7 separate regions of the Homo sapiens genome follow, and all the other regions are linked to region 6. The links are contacts of gene promoters, found by promoter capture Hi-C in blood cells and fetal thymus (Javierre and others, 2016). All regions are on one chromosome and are shown on one strand. Each heading gives the region's core, a stretch centred on a gene start or on the middle of the fragment in contact. The rest is flanking DNA. Distances are from core to core; before and after follow the strand shown. Region 1 overlaps ASAP1 (ArfGAP with SH3 domain, ankyrin repeat and PH domain 1). Region 2 has its middle 190 kb from the start of ASAP1. Region 3 overlaps ASAP1 (ArfGAP with SH3 domain, ankyrin repeat and PH domain 1). Region 4 overlaps ASAP1 (ArfGAP with SH3 domain, ankyrin repeat and PH domain 1). Region 5 has its middle 150 kb from the start of ASAP1. Region 6 holds the start of ASAP1 (ArfGAP with SH3 domain, ankyrin repeat and PH domain 1). Region 7 overlaps ASAP1 (ArfGAP with SH3 domain, ankyrin repeat and PH domain 1).

Evidence for each region. The method cuts DNA at HindIII sites, captures the fragments that hold promoters and counts their contacts. A CHiCAGO score of 5 or more calls a contact.
Region 1: a contact is called between a fragment that was not itself captured here and the fragment with the promoter of ASAP1 in region 6, in 9 of 17 cell types (activated CD4 T cells, M0 macrophages, non-activated CD4 T cells and 6 more). The highest score is 9.8, in activated CD4 T cells.
Region 2: a contact is called between a fragment that was not itself captured here and the fragment with the promoter of ASAP1 in region 6, in 2 of 17 cell types (M1 macrophages and M2 macrophages). The highest score is 6.9, in M1 macrophages.
Region 3: a contact is called between a fragment that was not itself captured here and the fragment with the promoter of ASAP1 in region 6, in 9 of 17 cell types (activated CD4 T cells, naive CD4 T cells, non-activated CD4 T cells and 6 more). The highest score is 14.3, in activated CD4 T cells.
Region 4: a fragment that was not itself captured here is called in contact with the fragment with the promoter of ASAP1 in region 6 in 2 of 17 cell types (activated CD4 T cells and M2 macrophages); the score reaches 5.8 in activated CD4 T cells.
Region 5: a contact is called between a fragment that was not itself captured here and the fragment with the promoter of ASAP1 in region 6, in 2 of 17 cell types (endothelial precursors and M1 macrophages). The highest score is 8.5, in endothelial precursors.
Region 7: a fragment that was not itself captured here is called in contact with the fragment with the promoter of ASAP1 in region 6 in 2 of 17 cell types (activated CD4 T cells and total CD8 T cells); the score reaches 6.9 in activated CD4 T cells.

Annotation. Positions count from the first base shown.
Region 1 is chr8:130,188,949-130,192,207 of GRCh38, reverse strand. The region is part of intron 5 of ASAP1 (ArfGAP with SH3 domain, ankyrin repeat and PH domain 1); the gene reads left to right. Among named protein-coding and RNA genes, the nearest start is that of ASAP1-IT2, 110 kb to the right of the region's middle. The HindIII fragment of the contact is 1,344 bases long and covers 730-2,073 here.
Region 2 is chr8:130,628,210-130,631,326 of GRCh38, reverse strand. No RefSeq gene overlaps it. Among named protein-coding and RNA genes, the nearest start is that of ASAP1, 190 kb to the right of the region's middle. The HindIII fragment of the contact is 9,665 bases long and covers 1-3,117 here.
Region 3 is chr8:130,231,650-130,234,796 of GRCh38, reverse strand. All of the region lies in intron 4 of ASAP1 (ArfGAP with SH3 domain, ankyrin repeat and PH domain 1), which reads left to right. Among named protein-coding and RNA genes, the nearest start is that of ASAP1-IT1, 63 kb to the left of the region's middle. The HindIII fragment of the contact is 767 bases long and covers 1,315-2,081 here.
Region 4 is chr8:130,287,814-130,290,960 of GRCh38, reverse strand. The region is part of intron 3 of ASAP1 (ArfGAP with SH3 domain, ankyrin repeat and PH domain 1); the gene reads left to right. Among named protein-coding and RNA genes, the nearest start is that of ASAP1-IT1, 7.1 kb to the left of the region's middle. The HindIII fragment of the contact is 2,496 bases long and covers 307-2,802 here.
Region 5 is chr8:130,592,968-130,595,991 of GRCh38, reverse strand. No RefSeq gene overlaps it. Among named protein-coding and RNA genes, the nearest start is that of ASAP1, 150 kb to the right of the region's middle. The HindIII fragment of the contact is 421 bases long and covers 1,150-1,570 here.
Region 6 is chr8:130,441,669-130,444,943 of GRCh38, reverse strand. ASAP1 (ArfGAP with SH3 domain, ankyrin repeat and PH domain 1) reads left to right here and starts at 1,270. Exons shown (of 30, transcript NM_018482.4): 1 at 1,270-1,484. RefSeq lists silencers at 1,186-1,285, 1,326-1,415, 1,426-1,585, 1,636-1,715. The HindIII fragment of the contact is 9,673 bases long and covers 1-2,429 here.
Region 7 is chr8:130,310,963-130,314,269 of GRCh38, reverse strand. All of the region lies in intron 3 of ASAP1 (ArfGAP with SH3 domain, ankyrin repeat and PH domain 1), which reads left to right. Among named protein-coding and RNA genes, the nearest start is that of ASAP1-IT1, 16 kb to the right of the region's middle. RefSeq lists an enhancer at 2,984-3,307. The HindIII fragment of the contact is 3,297 bases long and covers 110-3,307 here.

The DNA of each region.
Region 1 (3,259 bases), core at 152-2,651, 250 kb after region 6:
CCCCAAGAACCAGTGTCTTAGAGCCTCACAGAATGTAGACTCTCAGACTATAGCTCTCTGGTATGCCAGCCAGTCTGTTGGTGTGTGATTGTTGGCAAAATCACAGACAGAATTGTCTTGGTAGAAATCCCTTTGTCTTTGAAATAAGAAAGAAGTGATTGTTTCTTAGATGTGTGTCACCAGAGAAGCCCTCTGGTGACACACATTGGGAAACCTTCCGGTGTGTAAAATTAGTTGTTGTTCAGGGAGAGTAAAGAGGTAGAATGACTGAGAATTTCAAGAAGCCTAAGATGAAAACAACAGGAAAGGGTTAGGAAGAAGTTAAGAGCAAAAAGGGGAAAACCTGTTCCCCGCCCCTCTCTGCTCCCTCATTATCTTATCCATATTTAGCATGCCATAGCATTTAAAATATAAACATGTATTCAACACTTCCTAGGTATCAGGGAGTAAGCTAGCACTTTTTACACATATTAATTCATTCCATCCTCACAACAGCTGCTTGCAGTAGGTTATAATATTCTACTTTACAGATGTGGTTAAGAGGGTCATGCACAAAGCCCTTTCAAGTCAGCGTTGGTCCTTCTCACACCACTCTCTCCCTCTGCCACTAACACATAATACATAATAGCATAATGTAGTAGAGTTGGCTGTGTAGTGACTGCCTCTGTTCCTAGAATATGAGCTCTCCACAGGTAGGAACAGTGTTTATTCATCTTTGCCTATCAAGCTTCTAGTGTAGTGTGTGGCACAGAGTAGATATCTTATTAATGATGGATGGATGGACAGGCTGACAGTTGAATACACTTATGTGTGAGTAAAATCATTTCTTGAGTGAGGGGACCCACAAACCTTTCCATCTATAATCTGCTCCTGCAGGTCTCTGCAGTCTTGGGTTCCACACCTACTAAAACTTGATTTTACCAAGATTACTTGGGGTCTCCTTGAAGACAAGTAGGTAAAAACTCTTCTCAGTCCTTGTTTTGGTTACTCCTTTCACACCTGACTCTGCCTCCCTTGGTTCCCTCCTGCCATTCTTCTCTGCAGCTGGGTAGCATCTCCATCTCCATTTCCTTCTCCTTTGTAGATTCCTCTTTGTGCCATCTTAAAATCAAGGAGACTCAGGCCACTGCCGCAGAGCAGTGGAAAAAAAAAAAAAAACTATTTCCCGGTTATAGATTGCACTTCCTAAATATCTCATCTTTTTAATGGAATCTAGGCATTAAGGATATAGCTGTGAACAGAAAAGTCAAAGTCCCTGTCCCCATCGAGGTTATGTACTAGTGAGGGAGACAGAATACACAAGCTGGAGGCATCACATTACCTGACTTCAAATTATACTACTAAGCTGTAGTAATCAAACCAGCATGATGCTGGCATAAAAACAGATGCATAGGCCAGGTGCGGTGGCTCACGTCTGTAATCCCAGCACTTTGGGAGGCCAAGGAGGGTGGATCACAAGGTCAGGAGTTTGAGACCAGCATGACTAATATGGTGAAACCCCATCTCTACTAAAAATACAAGAATTGGCCGGACGTAGTGATGCATGCCTGTGATCCCAGCTATTCAGGAGGCTGAGACAGGAGAATCGCTTGAACCTAAGAGGTGGAGATTGCAGTGAGCAGAGATCATGCCACTGCACTCCAGCCTGGGCGACAGAGTGAGACTCTGTCTCAAAAAATAAAAATAAAAATAAATGCATAAATCAGTGGAACCAAATAGAGAACCCAGAGATAAATTCACATGCTCACAGTCAACTTATTTTTGACAAAGGCACCAAGAACATACATTGGGGAAAGAATATCCTCTTCAATAAATGGTGCTGGGAAAATTGGATATCCATATTTAGAAGAATAAAACTAGACCCTATCTCTCACCATATACAAAAATCAAATCCAAATGGATTAAAGACTTAAATCTAAGACCTGAAACTGTGAACCTACCAGAAGAAAACTTTGGGGGAAACTCTCCAGCACATTGCTCTCAGCAAAGATGTCTTGAGAAAGACCTCAAAAGCACAGACAACCAAAGCAAAAATGAGCAAACGCAAGTGGGATCATATGAAGTTAAAAAGCTTCTGCACCACAAAGGAAACAATCAACAAAGTGAAGAGACAACCCACAGAATAGGAGAAAATATTTGCAAATTACCCATCTGACAAGGGACTAATAACCAGAATATATAAGGATCTCAAATAACTCATAGGAAAAAAATCCAGTTTTAAACTGGGCAAAAGATCTGAATATATATTTCTCAAAAGAAGACCTACAAATGGCCCACAGGTTTATTAAAAAATGCTCAACATCACTAATCATCAGAGGAATGCGAATCAAAACTTCAGTGAAATATCATCTCAAGCCAGCTAAAATGGCTTTTATAAAAAAAACAGTAATGGATGCTAGCAAGGATGCAGAGAAAGGGGAACTCTCATACGCTGTTGGTGGTAATATAAATTAGTACAACCACTATGGAGAATGGTATAGAGGCTCCTCAGAAAACTAAAAAGAGAACTACCATAAGATCCAGGAATCCCAGTGCTGGGTATATACCTAAAAGAAAAGAAATCAGTGTATCAACAAGATAACCCGTACTCTCATGTTCATCGGAGCACTATTCACAGTAGCCAAGATACGGAATCAACCTAAGTGTCCATCAACAGTTGAGTAGATAAAGAAAATACAGTATATATACACAATGGAATATTATTCAGCCATAAAAAACAAAGTCATGCCACTTGCCACAAAATGGATCCAACATTATGTTAGGTGAAATAAGCCAAGTACAGAAAGATAAGTATTGCATGTTCTGTCTCATGTGGGAGCTAAAAAAGGAAATTGATCTCATAGAGATAGAGAATAGAATGATGGTTACCAGAGGCTGGGAAGGATAGTGGGGAGGAGGGAATAAAGAGGGATTGGTTATTAGGTACAAAAATACAGTTAGATAGAAGTAACACAGTCTAGTGTTAGGTAGCACAGCAGAGTGACTGTAGTTAATGATTTTTATTATATATTTCAAAATAACTAGAGTGGAATTGAAATGTTCTAGCACAAAGAAATGATAAATGCTTGAGGTGATGGAAACCCCAATTCCCTGATTCGATCATTATACATTGTACGCTTGTATCAAATTTCACATGTACTTCATAAATACAACTATTATGTATCCATAAAAACTAAAAATTAAAAGATAAATCTGAGCAAAAAAAAATCCAAACACAGTAATTTCAGATAATGATACATGCTATAAAAAAATGTGAAAA
Region 2 (3,117 bases), core at 514-3,013, 190 kb before region 6:
CCAGGATCTGCTTCTTCCTTCTAATTTCTTATTACTTCTAATTTTGCCATCTACAGCCACACCAAGTCCAACACTTCTTTCCATGTAATAGTGCTTCAAATAGTTGGATCTTTTAGAACAATGGATGATGGTTTGCAGGAATTCGATAAAATTAGGCCTACTAATAATACACTGCAGTAAGTCTACAGATCAATTATTTGAGAGAGTTGTTTGGTTATTTCAATGTTGGATAAATATAACTGGCTGTTTTAACTAATTTGCTATTCAAATAAGAACATATTGGTTATGAACATGGACTTTAGGTTTTTGTGAACATGGACTTTAGATTTGGGTTTGAATTCTAGTTCTGCCATTTAGAGACTATACAGCATTAGAAAATATACTATGATCTTAGTTTTCTTCTTTGTGTAATGGGAGTAATAATAGCTTCCTATTTGTGAAGATTTAATATGGTAATATTTATAAAGCATATATTTCAGGGTCTATTAAATAGTAAATATTTATGAAACAGTAGTTGCTATAACAGCTGGTCTGAAAAATTAGTCAATTAATTAATTCAGTACAAGCCTTGTGCTAGGAACTGGAATAATGGATGAATAAGATGTCATACTGCCCTCTAAGAAGACAACCAACATTAAAATGATATGTTAATTTGATGTGAGACTAGCAATAAAAACAACATGCTAACAAAACACAGACAACAATATTTTTAGAGGAAGTGATCTTGGATCTAGGCCTTGGAGAATCTAGTTTTCCAGGTGACAAAGTGGGGGTGGGAATGAAGGAACACTATAGGCAGAAGAAACGTTAAGAAGAGATTCACAGAGCTGCTATAGCCATTTTAAAACATGGCGCCAAAATTCTTTGTCACACTTTCTATCTGTGAGAAGTGGAGTTTATGTCATCTGCCCTGAAATCTGAGTTCTGTGGCTGCTTGAGCATCAGAATACCATGGAAGTAAAACTGAGTTGTTCCAAAGCCCAGTCCACTCCCTGTATCTTTGAAATACTCACACTTGGTACCCATTTAGCATGCTGAGAAGAAGCCAAGAAACCATATGAAGAGGCCATGCATGTACAGCTTTTCCAACTGACAGCCCCAGCTGAGATCTCAGCCACCGGCCAGCTCCAAATGCCAGCTACATGAATGCACCATCTTGGAAGTGGATCCTCCAGTCTCAGTCTAGCAGCCCTAGTGGAAGCTGCCTGAAATAGAGATGAACCTTCCCTGCTAAGCCCTGTCCAAATTGTAGATGCATGAGCTAAATAAATGATTGTTGCTGTTTTAAGCCATTAAATTTTGCGATTATTTGTTATGAAGCAATAGTTGAGAAAGTTGACAGACTGTTTACAGACTGACAGATGCTCTGACTTTGGAAAGAATATAAGATGCAAAGCAGAGAATGGTGGAGGGGGCCTTTGATATATTCTGCCTGGAAGAAGATGAGGATTTGCTTTAAGTCAGAAGCATGGGGACACAGAGACATGAAGACCAATGATGAAATAGCAGTTTCAGACAGTCTCTACTACAGTATTTCCCATGTGATAGTCCAAAAAAAATTCTATGGTCACGTAAGTTTCATGGCCACACCCAGAATATATTAACATATTAAAGAATATTTCCAAATATATTTTGCCACCCACATACACTTTTGTTTCTGTGGAAGGCTAATAACATAGTGTGGTAATTGTATTCAGTGGGACCTCCTTTGAAAAATTCTACTCTATCTCCTCTAATAAGTTGAATATTTCAGAACTCATCTTGTCTTCACTACTTTGAAGAAGTCTTAACTGCCCCGAAAGGTTAATGTACAACACACAAAAAACTCTCCCTTCTGGCCTAATTGTTGCCTCAGGACAATCAGATTTATAGACACCAGCACAGTCATGCAGAAGGGCTCAAGGGGAAAAGAAGGTTTACGTTTTCCAAGAATCAAATCAATACCCACAACACTTTGACTTCAGAGCTCCCACACCTTTCATGAAGACTTGTCAAGCACAATCTGTTTGCAGGATGGTGTGTCTCAGGCTAAACAATCCCCATAAATACATGTGCTTCATCTATTTTCCTTATTTGTGCCAGGTGGATTTTCTGAAATTTCTGTCTGTCAAACCTGTATGAATCTCTTATAGGTTCTGGACATGCAAAACCACATCTGCAACCTCAGCAAAGGTCAGTCTTAGAGGACAGAATGTGGTGGGGGTGGGTGAGTCACAGGTGTTTTCCATTCATTCAATGAACTGTCACTGAGCACTGGGTAGGGTACAGGTTACACAGCAGGAAATAAGACAGGTCCCTGACCAAATGAGACTTAGAGTTCAGTGGTGAAGATAGGCAAAATCAAAGGAAGAAACAAATACACATGCCAAATACGGACAACTAACAAGTACCCTGAAGGAAACTCACAAAATGTCAAAGTGGAGAATAAAGAAGAAATTGGAGCCTATTTTAGACGTGATGGTCAGGAAAGATGAATCTGAGAACATGACAGTGGAAGGTGAAGACAGAAAAGAGTATTCCCAATAACTTTAGCAGCATTTATAGATGTGCCAGGTCAGTCGTACAAATCTTATAAGGTCTACTGAAGGCCCACTTGGTTTAATGCTCTTGGTAGAGAAATAACAATCAGTTTCGGGGGGGACCAGGTTTCTAATTGTTTTGTAAAGTGTTTTCATAGATTGGATTCCTCAGAAGCCGATTCTGACTGAAAAAAAAATGCATGTGAAGTAATTTATTAGGAATAATTTCCAAGGAAAACAAATAGAGAGTTGGAAATGTGGTAAAGGAAGAGAAGGAACCCAAGCAAAAGCTCAGTGTATTACTCTGTTTTCACGCAGCTCACAAAGACATACGCAAGACTGGGTAATTTATAAAGAAAAAGAGGCGTCTGGGTGTGGTGGCTCATGCCTGTAATCCCAGCACTTTGGGAGGCCAAGGCGGGCAGATTGCCTGAGGTCAGGAGTTCAAGACCAGCCTTGCCAATGTGGTGAAACCCCATCTCTACTTAAAATGCAAAAATTAGCTGGGCGTGGTGGTGGGCTCCTATAATCCCAGCTACTCGGGAGGCTGAAGTAGAAGAATTGCTTGAACCCAGGAGACAGAGGTTGCAGTGAGCCA
Region 3 (3,147 bases), core at 449-2,948, 210 kb after region 6:
TGGTTTGTACCTGAGGCTCTATGCTTGTGAGCTGCAAAAGGGAGACCCTTGCTTTACAGCCACGAGGTGCTGCTGTATTTACCGTGCTGAGGGCTCCCTCCATGTGACTCTTTTCCAAATGTTCCCCCTCAAGATGCATTTCATCCCTTGGCCACAATGACCACATCACTCAGCAGCTCATACAAAGGCTCCTCTACTGGGGGATATGCTTCTTCCTGTTCTTTAAAGGATTTCCTTGATCACAGCTGCCATGGGTATGACAGAAGGGAGAGATTGTTCCTGTATGGATGTAAAGAGGTGAGAGTTCAAGGGCTGTATGCAGAGTTTGGGTGCAGCCTCCTCCAGTAGACTGCACCCTCTTTGTGGATGGGGGTGGTACAGCTTATTGAACATTGAATCTCTCCAGTCTGGATTAGGGGTTCTGTGTGCCCTCCTCCTAGGTTTGTACTATTAGAGTAGCCTCTGGTGAGATATGGTTTTAAATTTTAAATGAATTAAAATAAAATTTAAAATTCAGTTCCTCAGTTTTAGCCACATTTCAAGAACTTAACAGCCGTATATGACTAGTGGGTGCCATATTGGATAGTGCAGAAATAGAAACTTCTCCATCATCACAGGAAGTCCTGTTAGACTGATACTGTAGGAGAACATGTATCCCATTGTATTGCAATTACTAACCATCTCTCTTGGAGTAGATAATGATTCTTACCTTTGTTGATTAGGATCACCTGAAGAACTCTTAAAAACAAAAACAGGAATCTCTCAGACCCTTACCCTCGAATTGTTCCAGAGTAGAGCCTAGCTATTGAGATTAAAAAAATATTATTCCCCAGCTGATTCTAACTTGCAGCCAAAATTAAGAACTGTTGCACTGGCCTATGAGTTTTTTGATAAGACTAGTACTATGTTTTTCGTTTTTGTAGTTTATGCATTTGTCAATGTAATTTGTTTGTTTGAAAAGATATTTATTGAGCACCTATTATATTCTCCTGTTCTGGGTGTTAGGTGTTTGGCACATCAAAGTCTCTGCCTTCATGAATTTTACAATCCAGTAGGGGAGAGATAAATGTTAATCAGATCATCAAACTGGGAAGTATTTATAACTAGAAACTAGGAAGCGCTATAAAAGAAAGCTTACAAAGTGCAAAGGGTGAAATAGGAAGAAGGATCTGAGGTAGCGTGAGGAAGGTGCTAAGGGAGTACCACTTGGAGGAAATGATATTCATTTTGTATTTATACTGTACTAGGCTAAGCCAAACAAGCCAATAAGGTAAGTACCATTGTTCTCATTTTATAGATGATGAAACTGAAGCTTAGAGAGACAGAATAACTTGTTCAGGGTACCATACCTAGCAAATAATGGAAAGAGAGCCCAGCTGACCCCAGCTTTGCTCTTTACAGGTACTCTGTATTTGTCTTCTACCTAACACATGGTAGGGGCTCAACAAGGGTTGAGTGAATCGCTACATGTTGGCTGGATGTGTTACTACCTGGGAAGCTCTCTGAGACCAGCTATTAATATTCACTAATCATGAATATTCATGAATGGATCCATCAAATGGAAAATCCCAGCATTGTAACCTGTGGGATGACTTTGGTGTTTCCCAGATGAGACCACCAATAGTAGTTTCCATGGTCATGTCTCAGAAATATAGGGACAAACTCAGATCCCTCTGGGTTCCTCACAGACTATTGAGGCCTGATAGGGTTTCTGCAGTCACGAACAAGTATAGTATAGCTGGGTTTGTGGGCAGCACTATGACATTTAATTCTTTAAAAATGACTAAATGAGTAAAACAGTGGTGTTGCATAGCTTTCCATGATACATGCTCAGTGGAATCCAAGCTGTTCCCCTCCAAGGGCTTTTGGCCTCATCCAGAGAAACCACAAGAAGCTGAACCCTGCTATCTGTTTCCCAATGCATTTTCATAATTTTCTTGTTTTCTCACAATGCTTAAGTGATACAAAACCCATGTGATATTTTTTAAACATTTAAAAAGGATTTCTATATTTCTGGTTGGAGATTACCAATCACTCAGCTTCCCAAAGTGATTTGAAAAATGGCTAAACATTGTGAAGCTTCTTACTCTTAAAATGTATTATTTTTACACATAAACTTTTATCAGTACTAGTAAACATTATAAAAATGAGGGTTTTTTGGTTTTTTTTTTTTAAACAAATTGTCTCCATGCAAGCCCTTTGGTTTCAAGATTGTTCTAGGAATTTGTGTCTCACTTTTCCTTGTTGTGTATGAGGACATTTTAAAAAACAACACAAAACTCAATTCTGTGAACTACTTAGACCAATGGAAAATTCTCCAAGCCATTCAGTTTTCCTGTGTTGTTCTCTAAGTTTTGAAGTTTTAACATTATTAATCTGTGAAACACATTGTCGTTAAGGAAGTCTGCCTTAGTGGTCCCTCTCCCTTTCCCATTTTCTCCCTCCTTCGCCCTTTTGCTAATATATGATTAAAATGACTAGTAGTTTCTTGGGCACTGTGGAGGTTTTAATTTATTGTAATTCTTGGGCAATTTTCTTTAGAAAGATAGAGCCTAATCCCCTTTCCCCTTGAATGTACACCAGAGTTACTAACTCCCTTCTAATGAATAGAATGTAGTAGAGGTGATGCCATGTGATTTCCAAGGCCAGTCCATAGACAAGATAGCTTCAACCTCGTCCTTCTGTTCTTTTTCTGATCATTTTCTTTGGAGGAAGCCAGCTACCATATTGAGGATACTCAAGCAGTCCTATGGAGAACTACCACTCACTTACTAGCCATGCAAGTGAGACGTAGAAGCAAATCTAACCCCAGTCAAACTTTCAGGTGACTGCAGCCCTGGCAGACATCTTGATCTTGATCTTTGTGAGAGACCCTGGGTCAGTACAGTAGGAGTGGGGCTGGCTTTCCCTTGGAAGCATGGGCATGTGAATGCACGTAAGTCAGGTGTGGCTTGAGAAAAGAGCTTACTGCTTGCTTCTCAGTATTGTTTAAAAAACACAGTGAGACATACTGCACTTTTAGAAATGGAAGCATGTGGTTCATAATAAGCGTGGGTATACTGAGTTGGCTATTCTACCAAATGAATTAGGTTGAAAATGTTAATCTTTTTGAGCAGATACATTCTCACACAACACAGGTACAGGTAT
Region 4 (3,147 bases), core at 305-2,804, 150 kb after region 6:
CCTACTTGTGAAGGTCTTCATTGGAATGGCACATTGAATGCATGAACCCTTAAAATCCTTACTCCCTTTAACCCAAGCCACATCTCAGTGGCTTTAAAGCATATCAAAGCAAGGAGGGGAAAGTCTGTGTGATACGGTACTAAAATTGATCCTGTAGTACCAGGCATGAGGAGAGGAAGGAGGAGTATCATCATTATCCTGTTAAGGATTTGTCATGCCTCAGAGCATCTGCAAGGAAATAGTCCACAGATAAAGTTCAGCAAGTGATTTGCAATTGGTAGAGGTGGTTTGGCATTTTGAAAAGCTTTATAAATGTGACTGCAGCCTGAGAAGAATGACCACCACTGGAATGAGGGAAGGCTGGAAGGATTTAAGGGGTTCTTTATGAAATCAGGCACACATCCCCATGTCGACTAGGCTAGACTCAGGCACCATAATAGCCCTGGTTCAGGGTCACTCCTCTTTCCAGGAAGGTTTGGATCCTACAGTTAGAAAAGAGGAATCTTGGATCTCTAGGTAAGGGTTAGAGAAAGTATTCTGGGCATCCCAAGTTAGAATCTGGTGTCTTTGCTTAACGAGTTCTGAACATTTCATGTGAGGGAATATGGGCTACTGTTGTAGGCCTTGCTGTTTCACCTGAACCATCCCTGCCCTTGAAGGACTTAAAGTTGGAAGGAATGTGAGGAGGCGGAGTAGCACAGTTATATGACATCTAATCCAAAGTAGAATATGCGAGCCTTAAGAGAAGTGCAGAGGGCTGTGAGGAGTATGAAGTGGCTGGCAAATAGATTCAGTATTATATTTCATTTATTCATTCTGCAGATATTTATGGACCACCCTTTTATGTTGCTATTGCTGTGCTAGTATTGGAGATACAAAGATGAATATGACACCTCTCGGGCCGTTGCCAACTGTCGAGTACCAGGAAGAGCGCTTAGATAAATGACCATGTACAATGGGGTACGTGCAATTATAGGTCCACTGTTATTTGCTGTTCTGAATTCCAAATGTTAAGAGTTTTGACATGAAATTTTGTTTCATGAGGCTTTTAGAAGCTAAACTAGAAACGTACTGGATATTTAAAAACTGTGTTACCAGAATCTGATAATGGAGTTCTACACTAGTCCCTGTGGGGTATGTTGTATAATAAACAATAAGTATACTGTAATTTCTTTCTGAAATCTACAAAAGTATGAATTCTAAAACAGCCAGCCCCAGCTAAAGGATTGTGGATACAAGTAAGATACTTCAGGTGATTTGAGAGTTTACCTGGCTGTATGGGCTACCCTGGGAATATAACCACTCTTTATAACATCCTTTCTTCGAGAATGGTATGTGCTAAGTTATAAACAGCTGACTTAGGGCCATCATTTTAAAGTATGAAGCCTTCCAGTCTTCGCCTCCCCAGTCTTTTCCATTCTTAAAGTTTGGACCAGTCTGCAAGGTAGCTGCCTCCCTAAGGATTTGGGGTATTCTCTAAAATTTGAATATATGATATTCTTGTGCCCTTTGAATACGCTGTTTAAAAATAAATTTTAAAGAATATTCTCATGTAAAAGTAACACACATACTTTGGAAAATACAAAACATAGGAAGAAGGAAAAAATGGCCACATTCTTACTGTGAACACACTGATGCTTTTTCTGTGCATGTTTTTGTTTAATAGTGTTAGTCTGACGCCTTCTTATTCATTATAACATACCCATTTTCCCATGTTATTTACATAGTCTTGGTAAGTATAGTTTTTTTTTTTGTTTGTTTTTGTTTTTTGTTTTGAGATGGAGTCTTGCTCTGTCGCCCAGGCTGGAGTGCCGTGGCACCAACTTGGCTCACTGCAACCTATGCCTCCCGGGTTCAAGTGATTCTCCTGCCTCAGCTTCCCGAGTACCTGGGACTACAGGCGTGTGCCACCACGCCCAGCTAATTTTTTGTATTTTTAGTAGAGACAAGGTTTCACTGTGTTAGCCAGGGTGGTCTCGGTCTCCCGACCTCGTGATCCACCTGCCTTGGCCTCCCAAAGTGCTGGGATTACAAGCATGAGCCACCGCGCCCAGCCTTGGTAAGTATAATTTTTAATGGTTATACACAGTTTCATTCTGTGAATTTATCATAATTTGCTTAACCATCTCCCATCATTGGACATTGTTATTTGTCCTTCCCTCCCTTCTTTCCTTCTATAAGTAATGCTGCTGTGAACATCTTGCATTGACCAGATTACTGGGGCAGATTACCTGTGCTTCCACAGTGGTTTTACCATAGTACAGATGCCATCTTCTTCCCATAGTGCCCTTGCCTAGTACATTTTAAATTCTTGGAGGACAGAGTCTCCTTCACATTTGTCTCTGGGTCCTCTACACTGCCCTGCTTAGGGTCTTGAAGGTGATTAACACATTTGTTTAATGGATATGCAGTCCAGACTTCTGAATGCCCTTTTCCCTCTTAGAGTTAATGTGTAAGAGCTGGCAGTGCTCTGTAAATGCACAGCTGCAGGTAGGACACTGCGCCTCCAAATAAAACATGTCCTGATAAGCATTTGCAGGGAGGTTTATATTCTCAAAGATATCCTCTTTATTAACAGTTGTTTCAACAAGGAATTTTTTTTTTTTTTAATATCAGCTCTTGTAAAAGAATGGAATTACCCTAAGGAGTGAGTTCTGGGGACCCAAATTGAGGAATGGTGCCCTCGAAGTCAAATACTGGAACCAGAAAGGTTAGAAATAGATTAAAAGCCTCAGCTTTATCAGAAAAAAGCCACAGATGAAAAGCCTCAAGCAGCTTCCAGCATGGCTGAGGAGATAAGCTTCCCATATTTGCATTAATTAGCAGGAGCACCTAGCACTGATTGCTTGATGCGTGTAGCTGGAGCTCCTGCCAGGGGAGAAGAGTTCCACGCAGCATGGATGCAGGAGTCGGACTAGAGCACAGTTTGAAAGCGCTTTGGGATGGCCTCACCCTGCATGGGTGCTTGGTTGACTGTGCGTGGAGGTGACTAGAAAGGACAAGCCTGGGGAAGAGATAGGCTGGGGTAGGGACCTAACAGGGCAAGAGGGTATGTGTTTGAAATGTTAAGTCAGTTTACCAAACCTTCCCAGGGTCTCTGCTATATGCTAGACTGAGTGGGAAGGGCTAGGGGTATAGAGGTGACAA
Region 5 (3,024 bases), core at 111-2,610, 150 kb before region 6:
TTCTGTTTTCTCAAGGGCATGGCAGTAGGTCCAAAATGTCCTCTGGGTTTGAAAATGAAATGCCGGCACAGAGCAGATTCCTGACAAATGTGGCCCAGATGTTTCTGAGCGATTTATTTTTGCTGATGGAAAATGGCTGAGCTAATAACCCTCAGAAACATTTCTGTAGGGAGAGTTGAAGCCTATTTTGCCTCTGTGCTTGTGTTTTGCTTGTGGTTTTCTTTTACGGAAGAAATTAGATGTAGGAAAAAGCCCAAAAAACAACTCTGTCTATAACAGCTGATGCCAAAATCCCATGCATAGATTGTGTGACCTGATTTCTACCAATTATTGACAATTCAGTGAGGCCCAAGTTCTTCTCATCAATTACCTCATTTAATCCCTATGACAAGGAGGAGACCAAGGCTCAGAGCAATGACATTTCCTACCCAGCCAGAGCCACACGGCCTGTGACAGCATGGCTGAGAATCAAACCCCAAGCTTTGACTCTAGATCAAAACTCTTTCCACCACTATACTCTTATAGGGAAATGACAAGGAAAATACAAGGGTTAAAAGAGACTCTGAGAGGCTGGATGCAGTGGCTCACACGTGTACTTTGGGAGGCCAAGGTGGGTGGATTACTTCAGGCCAGGAGTTCGAGACCAGCCTGGCCAATATGACAAAACCCCGCCTCTACAAAAAAAAAAAAAAATAGCCAGGCATGAGGGTGCATGCTTGTAATCCCAGCTACTCGGGAGGCTGAGGCAGGGGCAGCAGAATCACTTGAACCCTGGAGGCAGAGGTTGCAGTGAGCCGAGATCACACCACCACACTCCAGTCTAGGAGACAGAGCAAGACTGTGTCTCCAAAAAAAAAAAAAAAAAAAAAAAAAGAGAGAGAGAGAGAGAGACTGTTAGCGGTCTTCTAATTGATCCATGGGCTTTTCGTCAGCACCTCAATTTTACACCCTAAACTTGGTCAGAGAGTCTAGTGAGTTTCCTTTTCTTTAAGGGAAAGGCACTGCTTTCTGGGCAGCAAGAAAAGGACTGTCTTTGATGTCCCCACTCCCCAACATCTTTTGGCAATGAGTGACTGTGCTATCTAATGCTATATTCATAGTGAAGTGAAATGGCTTTGAAGCAGACAGAACCAGGACCAAATCTAAGCTTCACCACTAACAAGCTAGGTGACTTTAAGCAAGTCAGTTATTAAAGTTCTCTGTGTTTAGTTTCCTAATTACCAGCCAAGAAGCTCTCTCTAGCTCTGTCTCTGTTGCTGTAGCTGCAGCCTATGGAAGGACTGTTGTGAAGATAGCTTCAGCATAGCCCTTAACACAGAGTCGGCTCTCTGTAAATGGTGGTGATTATTAACTATTCCATAACTATGGAAATGAGTGAGCAAGTGAGCAGTGAATGTGCTTCTCCTCCTCTGTGAGACTAAGAGAGACTCCATGATTGTCAAGTTTAGCCATGAGGAAAGGCACATAACCCTTCTCCTTGGTGCATTTGCCCCAAGTGGCTACTTTGTGCTTACAGGAATTTGCAAATGACATTACAAGAGCAGCATAATGGGCTGAGAGGAAACAAGCTTGCCATGACCTTCACCTCCTCTTGCTTCCACCTATTGGGATCCCAGGACTATATGGGATTCAGCAGGACTGCCTTGTTCAGAACCTACTTCCAAGCAAGATGAGACTTAAACCATCTCTAATGAACAATTATTGCATATCTGCCATGTGTCAGGCACTATGCTGGCATAGATAGGTAAGTCAGTAGGTAGATAGAACAGAATAGCTAGATAGATGGTAGACAGATAGATGATAGATAGATAGATAGATAGATAGATAGATAGATAGATAGATAAATAGATAGAGATAGATGATAGAGATAGATGATAGATATAGATGATTGATAGATAGATAGATAGATAGATAGATAGACAGACAGACAAACAGACAGATAGATAGATAATCTCAGATCATCTTATCCTTCCATAGAGGCAGGACAGGAGGATAGTGAAAAGAGCATAAACTATGGACTCAGGTAAGATGATTTGAAATCCTGGCTCAATCCTTTTCTCTCTGTGTGATTTTGGGCAAGTTGTTCTTCTCAGAATCTCTGTAAAAGGGGGAAATTACATCTGCTCAAATGAATTGTTTTTAATCAGATAAAAATCCTGCAACACACGGGACACTCTCTGGCACAGAGGAGAGTCACGGGGGAGCTGACTCTCATTTGTATCTACTCTGCAGAGTCGTTGCCATCATAGTGTACCGGTGAGAATGTTGAATTCCAGGACAGAAGGGGACTTGCCCAAAATCACAGAGTTAAGGGGCAGACATGGAAAACTGGTTCTCATGCACCCAAATCTATTTCTGTTCAAAGCTGCAAAAAATATTCACTGAGCACTTCATTAGGCACCCATGCAATGGGAGAAGGGCTAGGCATTTCTAGGAAATCCAGGATCCCAAGAAGCTCACATCCCAGTGGGAGAAACATTTACTTGGCAAATATTCATTGTATTAGTCCATTCTCACGTTGCTATAAGGACATATCCAAGACTGGGTAATTTATAAAGAAAAAGAGGTTTAAGGGAATCACAGTTCCACGTGGCTAGGGAGATTTCACAATCATGGAAGGTGTAGAAGTTGCTAAGGCACGTCTTACATGGCAGCAGGCAAGAGAACATGTGCAGGGCAACTGCCCTTTATAAAATCATCAGATCTCCTGGGACTTACTCACTATCACAAGAATAGCACAGGGGAAAAATCCACACACATGATTCAATTACCTCCCACCAGGTCCCTCCCACAGCATGTAGGGATTATGGGAGCTACAGTTCAAGAAGAGATCTGGATGGGGAAACAGCCAAACCATATCATCTATTTCATTACACATTCTGTATCTTTGGCAGCATGGAAGACGGTAGAAATGCAAAGGTATACCTAACAGGTATAACCTGTGGCTGTGTCCCACACAGCGTATTGTTTTGAAGGCAGATGTACGTATAAAATGAAATATGTTAAGCACTCCCATGGGAGAAT
Region 6 (3,275 bases), core at 21-2,520:
CAAAGTCTGATTGGGTTTCAAAGGAATCTGAAACACTTACAGCAAAACCACCAAGCTGCATCCTCCAGGTAGACACCCCCGAAATGTGGCATTTCCGTGGGAAACCACAATGAATCACTCATTGGCTGCCCGACCTCTCTGCCCAGTCAGAGATTGATTTTGGTTTTCCCAAACTTTGTAAATCCGCTCCAGACTGTTTAACAACCCCCACTCCCCACTACACCCAGACTCTCAGATTAGGAGCAAAATCCCAAATTTTGTGAGGTTTTCTGTTTCGGATTTCACCAGAAGGGGGTCTGCCACAGCCACTAACCATTTCCTCTGCAGAGAGCCGTTTCTGAAATGCTGCAAAGAAAAACAATCACCCAATGATTAGGAGGGAAATTAAGTTCTAAAGAAAGACTACTGTCTCTGACTTTGAAAGTAGACATAGATATGCACAATATACATCCCACAAATTAAAATCCTCCTTTCTCTGATGTCTTTTAATGGTAATAATAAGGACAAGCATGGCTATCATTTATTTGGGCGTTTCCAATGTGCCAGTCCCTGTCTAAACATTCAGCTTCCAGATCAAACCTATGAGGGTGGAATTAACATCCATTTCATAAATGGAAACTGAGGCTCAGGAAAGTTGAGCGAGTTACTCAAGGTAACATGAGTAGAAAAAAGGCCATATTCCAACCGGACACAGAGCCTGCAGCCCACACAATTACTCTCCATACTGTTCCTATACTATCCTGACTGGGAAGGTCCTGTTCCCTTGGCACTGGGCAAAAATAAAATTATAAGAGCAGAGAGGAAGTGGTGAAAGGGGGCAGCCTGGTGAAATCATTCCTTTACTGAAAATAGGGGTAACGGCCAGGACAGTGCAGGTCCATCCTCTGCAGATGGAAGACAGGCACGTCCTTTGCCGCTGTCCCGGCCTTAGAAAGGCACCTTCCGCGTCCAGGGTTTTCTGTGGATAAATCCCACCCCTTCCACCTCAGGCGGGGAGGAGGCCGGCCGGCCGGGGCATGGGGCGGAAGGCGAAGGACGCCCGACCCCGGCCGAGGTCTGGGGCCCCTCCCACGCCCCCCTCGTGGCTGCCGGCGGGCCAAGGGTTAAGCGAGGCGGGAGCCCCCGGCGCGGAGCGGCTCGGGGCCGGGAATGCTTAGTCAGGATTCCGATTTCCTGTCGAAGTGTTTGGATTTCCTGAAACCCGCGCCCTCCGCCGCCGAGCGGGATCGTGCGAGCCGCTCGCGTCGCCGCGGCCTCCTCCCCCTCGGCACATGGTCGCCCGCCCCTTCCTGCGCCGCGCTCGGCTCCCGCGCCTCGCCTGGCCTGGCCGCTGCCGCGGGCGAGCACTGTGCGCTGGGCAGCCCCGGGCCCGCGCCTCCCGCCCAGCCGGCGCTTCCCGGTCGCAGTTCGCTTTCCCACCCGAGAGCCGCGAGCGCCCGGCCGAACCCGCGATGGAATAATGCCCAGCGGCCCGCCAGGTCCCGGTGAGTTGCGGGGCGCTCGGGCGCGCTCGGCGGGGCCGGGCGGAGTCGCCCACAGTCGCGGGCGCCCCCTGCCCAGTCTCTCGCGCGAAGAAGGGCGCCGGGACGGGGCGCGGGGCGGGCTCCCGGCTCCTCTCGCAGCGGGGTGTCCTTCTCCGCGGGGAGGGCGCCGGCCCTGGGCTGGGGCGTGTGCGGGACGCGCGGCCAGGCTCTGCGGGGCCGGGCGAGGCCGCCCGGTGGGGGGGGGAGGTCTCCTCGCCTCCAGCTCGGGAGAGGGGGCCCCTGCAGTGGGGCCGGGGACGGGGCCCGCCCTGGGGGGTTTCGCGTCCCCCTCCGGGGGAGGGCCCGGGACGACGTGCTTGGCGGCCCGGACCCCGCCGATGGGGCGCCCTCCCGGCATTGTCTCTGGTGCAGCCGAGGAAAGTTCCCCGCGGCCCCCGGCCCCTACCCGGACCCGGCGCTGCTTGGCAGGCCCCAGGCCACTTGCCTAAAGCAAAAGAAGAGAAACGAAAGGGAAGGGGGTGGGGGGAGTCCTACTTGGAGCTTGGGGTTGGCTCCTGGGCGGACCGTGAAGTGGCTTGTGTTTTCTGCTTGTACCATTTTGGGACCTGCTGCGTTTTCTGAGAGCGACATGAAGTTTCAAAGAAAAAAGAAACTTGCCGGTGTCCGGTTTTCTGCGGTTTGATACATCCCAAGAGGTTCATCTTGGGCACTTCTAAAGCAGTTTCCTTTAATAATGTGGTTTTCCAGTAGCTCAGGGAGAAGGATGGTCAACTGCAGACCATCATCGTTAACTTGACCTCAACTTTACCTGTACTCGTCAGGAAAGCAAAAGAACTTTCTCTCGCATTTTCCCCTGTCTACTCTGTTAGGTTATCTTGGCGTGATTGATTCTGGGATGACATCAGGACCTGGATTGCTGAGTAATGTTTTGGGATTGTAAAAGCTTATCAGTTTTTAGGCCAGGGTTATCTGTATTGCAACCTTCATCCCAAAGCCTTTCTGTTTTGCAATTGTAGCGCGGCCAGATAGCTTTAAGAAAATGCGGGTCTTCTGGAAACACCCAGTGAACAGTTTGGAAAGAAAAAGATCTTTGAGAACAACTGATTCACCCCCTTCAGAGAAGGCCCAGAAAGGTGACCTGACTTGCCCAAGATCACATGGCCAGGAGTAGTTTCCACTTCTTCAGGCTCAGTCCCATGCCCCTTCTGTGTTAGATTTTGATCTGTTAGCCATGAAACAGATTTGGAAACGTCTTCTTTGCGTCACAGCCTTCACCACTTTAGTGCCTTCTCTTCTGTCCTGTTAATGCTGCTATTTTTGAGATATGCACTTATTTCAAACTGCATATTTTGAGATAGGGAGTTAAAAAAAACAAAAATCACCTAACGCCACTAAGTGGATTTGGAGATTCAGCTACCAAATGGATTTGAAGTATAAAATGAGTGGCTTATTATACGGGGAATTACTTTCCCTATCCCATTCTTTTGTGCAAAATAGAAACTCCCAGGTCCAAAAAAGGGCAGTATCTTAGCACATAATGTACCCTCTGATGTTCTCTAGACTTGATTTTCAGCCCTCCTGTTTCTTGTGAGCTAAGCAGCCCATCTATTTTTCTCATGAGAGCTCTGAATGGCTGGTTTTTCATTTTTAGTATGTGATAATGTTGGAGAGAAAGGACTTTTCGCAAGCTTGCCATTTGGTGAGGGAAATTGAAATTCTCTACACCTCCCCAGTCCTCACCAGCCACAGCGAGCCAGATTTTCAAAATCAGTGCAAGCCTGGCAGGCCCAA
Region 7 (3,307 bases), core at 509-3,008, 130 kb after region 6:
ATAAAAAGTGGTATGAAGGTTAAAAAATAAAGTCAGGGATGTCACAGTATGAAAGTTGTTGCCCCTCCAGTAGAATTAATATGTGGGGTGTAAGTGGGGGGAGGAAGCTTACCTTTTTGACCCCAAGTGAGAGCCTTGCATGATTGTTTTCTTAAAAATGGCCTTTTCTGACCAAATTGAAGGTGACGCATTCTAGACTTTCATTTATAATGTCCATTTACATGCAGTACTTCTATATTCAGATTGACTTCCTGTCACACTGAGTGATTGGTGGGCTGCTTGCCAGCCTAGGGGTGGACTGCAGCAAATTGTGTGTGAGGGAAGCCAGCAGTCTGCAGGGCTGAGCTGAAGTGGGGAGAGGAGAAGAGCATGGGACGTGGTGTCGAGTGCAGTGGCATTGACTGCAGACAGGCTGCTGCTTTACACTGGGGGATTCATTCCCTTTCCCCCAGTAAAGACTGTTAAAATATCAGAACTGATAGTATAAAGTCATGAGTTTTTTAGTTCATGCAGAATGTGGATCATGTCTGAGATAAAAATTCATAAGATTTTTGAATATCCTGGGGCTGATGGTTTTAGGCAGTGAAGTTAATTTAATTTTATTTTTTATTTTCTGTAGCTGAAACGTCTGCTTTTCTGTGAGGACGTTGATTATGTGTTCCACTGCCAAAAGAAGTTTCTCATTTTCAAACTGCAGCTCCCCTAGTTGGGCAATATAACTGTAATTTGAGAATCCCACAAGGGTAGTCTGTTACTCGGCAGATAACCCTACAGTAAATTTGCATGAAGGCATTATTTAAAACAGTTTTCTTCTCTGACCTATTATTGCACAGCAAAATAGCAGTTTCCTTTCTAAGGTAAGAGATTTGGAAGGAGGACTCAATTTATACGTGATCTCATTGAGAGTGAGAGCTGCAAAGATGAGGAAAAGAAGTGGACCTTTTAAAAGTTTTTTTTTTTTTTAAACGGTTATGTTATTTTATTTTGTTGAAGGCAGAGGATATGTTTTATTTTAGGGACCCACCAGAATTGCTTAGAAATTATCTGCAGGCTTTAGGGATTTTTGCTTATCAGTATATTTCATTTGCCCCATTGTTCAGCCCATCCACCACCTCCTTCCATTTGTTCTCAGAAACTAAACTAGGAGAACATAAGCACTTGGTTATGTGAAAATGTACTTATGATTCTTCCATGAAAACCTAAAGTATTAAAAACCCAACAGTTCACTTGTGTTCTTTCATGAACAGGTATGTGCATGCTATGATTGCTTTCATTTGCCAAGTCATTTTTTAATTTAATGAGCTGTCACTCTGCTGTCATTGGATCAGTTGTAGATGAGGGGACACCTTTTGGCCTTCATTTGATGTCTTTCTCACGTGCTTATTCCCTCATCTTGTTTGGTTGAAAATCACATTGGCAAAACCAAATCCAGAATGCTAGGGTATGACTAAATGGTAGAACAAGCTAAGCAACTATTTCTAGGGGGGAAAATTTCTGTGCTAGGCTTTGTTACTACAGTGGTTGAACATGGGCTTTAGAATCAGAAAGATCAGTTCAGATCCCCACATTGGAACATAAAAGTTGTGCTATCTTGATTTAATTTCCTTTAGCCTTGTTTTCCTTACCTATAAATAGAAATTATAATAGTACCCACCTGTAATGGTTGGTTCAGTGAGATAATGCCTGTGTATGCCTTGGGCCTGGAAATGTCCCTAATGCAGAGGACATTCACTATCAAAAGGGAGAGAAGGCCCCCTGGAGTTGCTACGGGTTGCAGTATTTTTTTTAAAACCAGAATTCCTAATGGGTTTTTTTTCCCCTCCTTTTAGTGATATTGTATTTTGCTTAAGTGTGTTAGATTTAGCTCTCGTCTGGTTTGTGTTCAAGCTCCCTTTCAAAGGTGCCATCAGTGCTCAAGGCCAGGGGTTCAGCTGCAGGGATGGTGGATGGTAGCCAGCTCTTTTAGGCATGGTACTTTTTTTTTTTTTTTTTAAAGACAGGGTCCTACTCTGTCACCCAGGCTGGAGGGCAGTGGCGTGATCACAGCTCACTACAGCGTCGACCTCCCAGGCTCAAGTGATTCTCCCACCTCAGTTTCTTGATAGATGAGACTACAGGAGCACACCACCACACCCAGCTAATTTTTGTATTTTTTTTGGAGAGACTGGGTCTTGCTATGTTATCCAGGCTGGTTTTGAACTCCTGGGCTCAAGTGATCCACATATTTACAGTGGTTGGTGTTCATTTAGAATTTAATGAGGTGAACAAGAGTATATTTGCACCTACATGTTCTAGGCTGAATTCGGATCTTCTCATTTAGAAGGAGTACAATTAATAAATCATTATGGATCGTATTCAAATTACTATTTTTTTTTGAGTTGTTTTTGTTTACTTAAAAGTAGATTTTTAACCATCTAGCTTGACATACTATTATTATTTAGCCTAAAATCTTTGCTTTCTATAATTATAAGTAACCTATATCACTTATTTTGCCTTTTTTTTTTTTTTGAGACGGAGTTTCGCTCTTGTTGCCCAGGCTGGAGTGCAGTGGCGCGATCTCGGTTCACTGCAACCTCCGCCTCCCGGGTTCAAGCGATTCTCTTGCCTCAGCCTCCCGAGTAGCTGGGATTACAGGCATGTGCCACCATGCCCAGCTAATTTTGTATTTTTAGTAGAGACAGGGTTTCTCCATGCTGGTCAGGCTTGTCTCGAACTTCCAACCTCAGGTGATCCTCCCGCCTTGGCCTCCCAAAGTGCTGGGATTACAGGCGTGAGCCACCACACTGGACCCTATTTTGCCCTTTTTAAGTACTGGCTTAACGAGTGAAAAAGATGCATGTGCACTGAAAAAAGACTAGGAAAAGATAGAATACAATGCCAGTAGAGATTGTCTCTATGAGACAGCATAGGCTATTGTTATTTTAGACGTAAATTTCTCTACTTTTCAAAATTACCACCTATTTGGATACCTTTTCTTAGTTTTATAAAATATGGCCATTGGGGAAAACTTGAAAATTGAGCAAAATACAGAGAAGAGAATTTTAAAATGACCCATGATTCCACCACTCAGATAACTACAGATGGCATTTTGGTGCATTGCACTTGTCACTTGTAGTCAGAACAGCAAATGTGCTTCATTTTCCAGGCCTGCAATTTGTTCCTTTTGCACACATTTCTGACAACCTGCCCTGGACTGCGTTCTCATAGAATGGCTGTCCTCCCCACTGTGGGAGCCCTTGCTGAGCCTAACAAATAAAGCCTCCTTCACAATAGAGCTAAAGAGGAGCTTCATCAGAGAAACACTGCC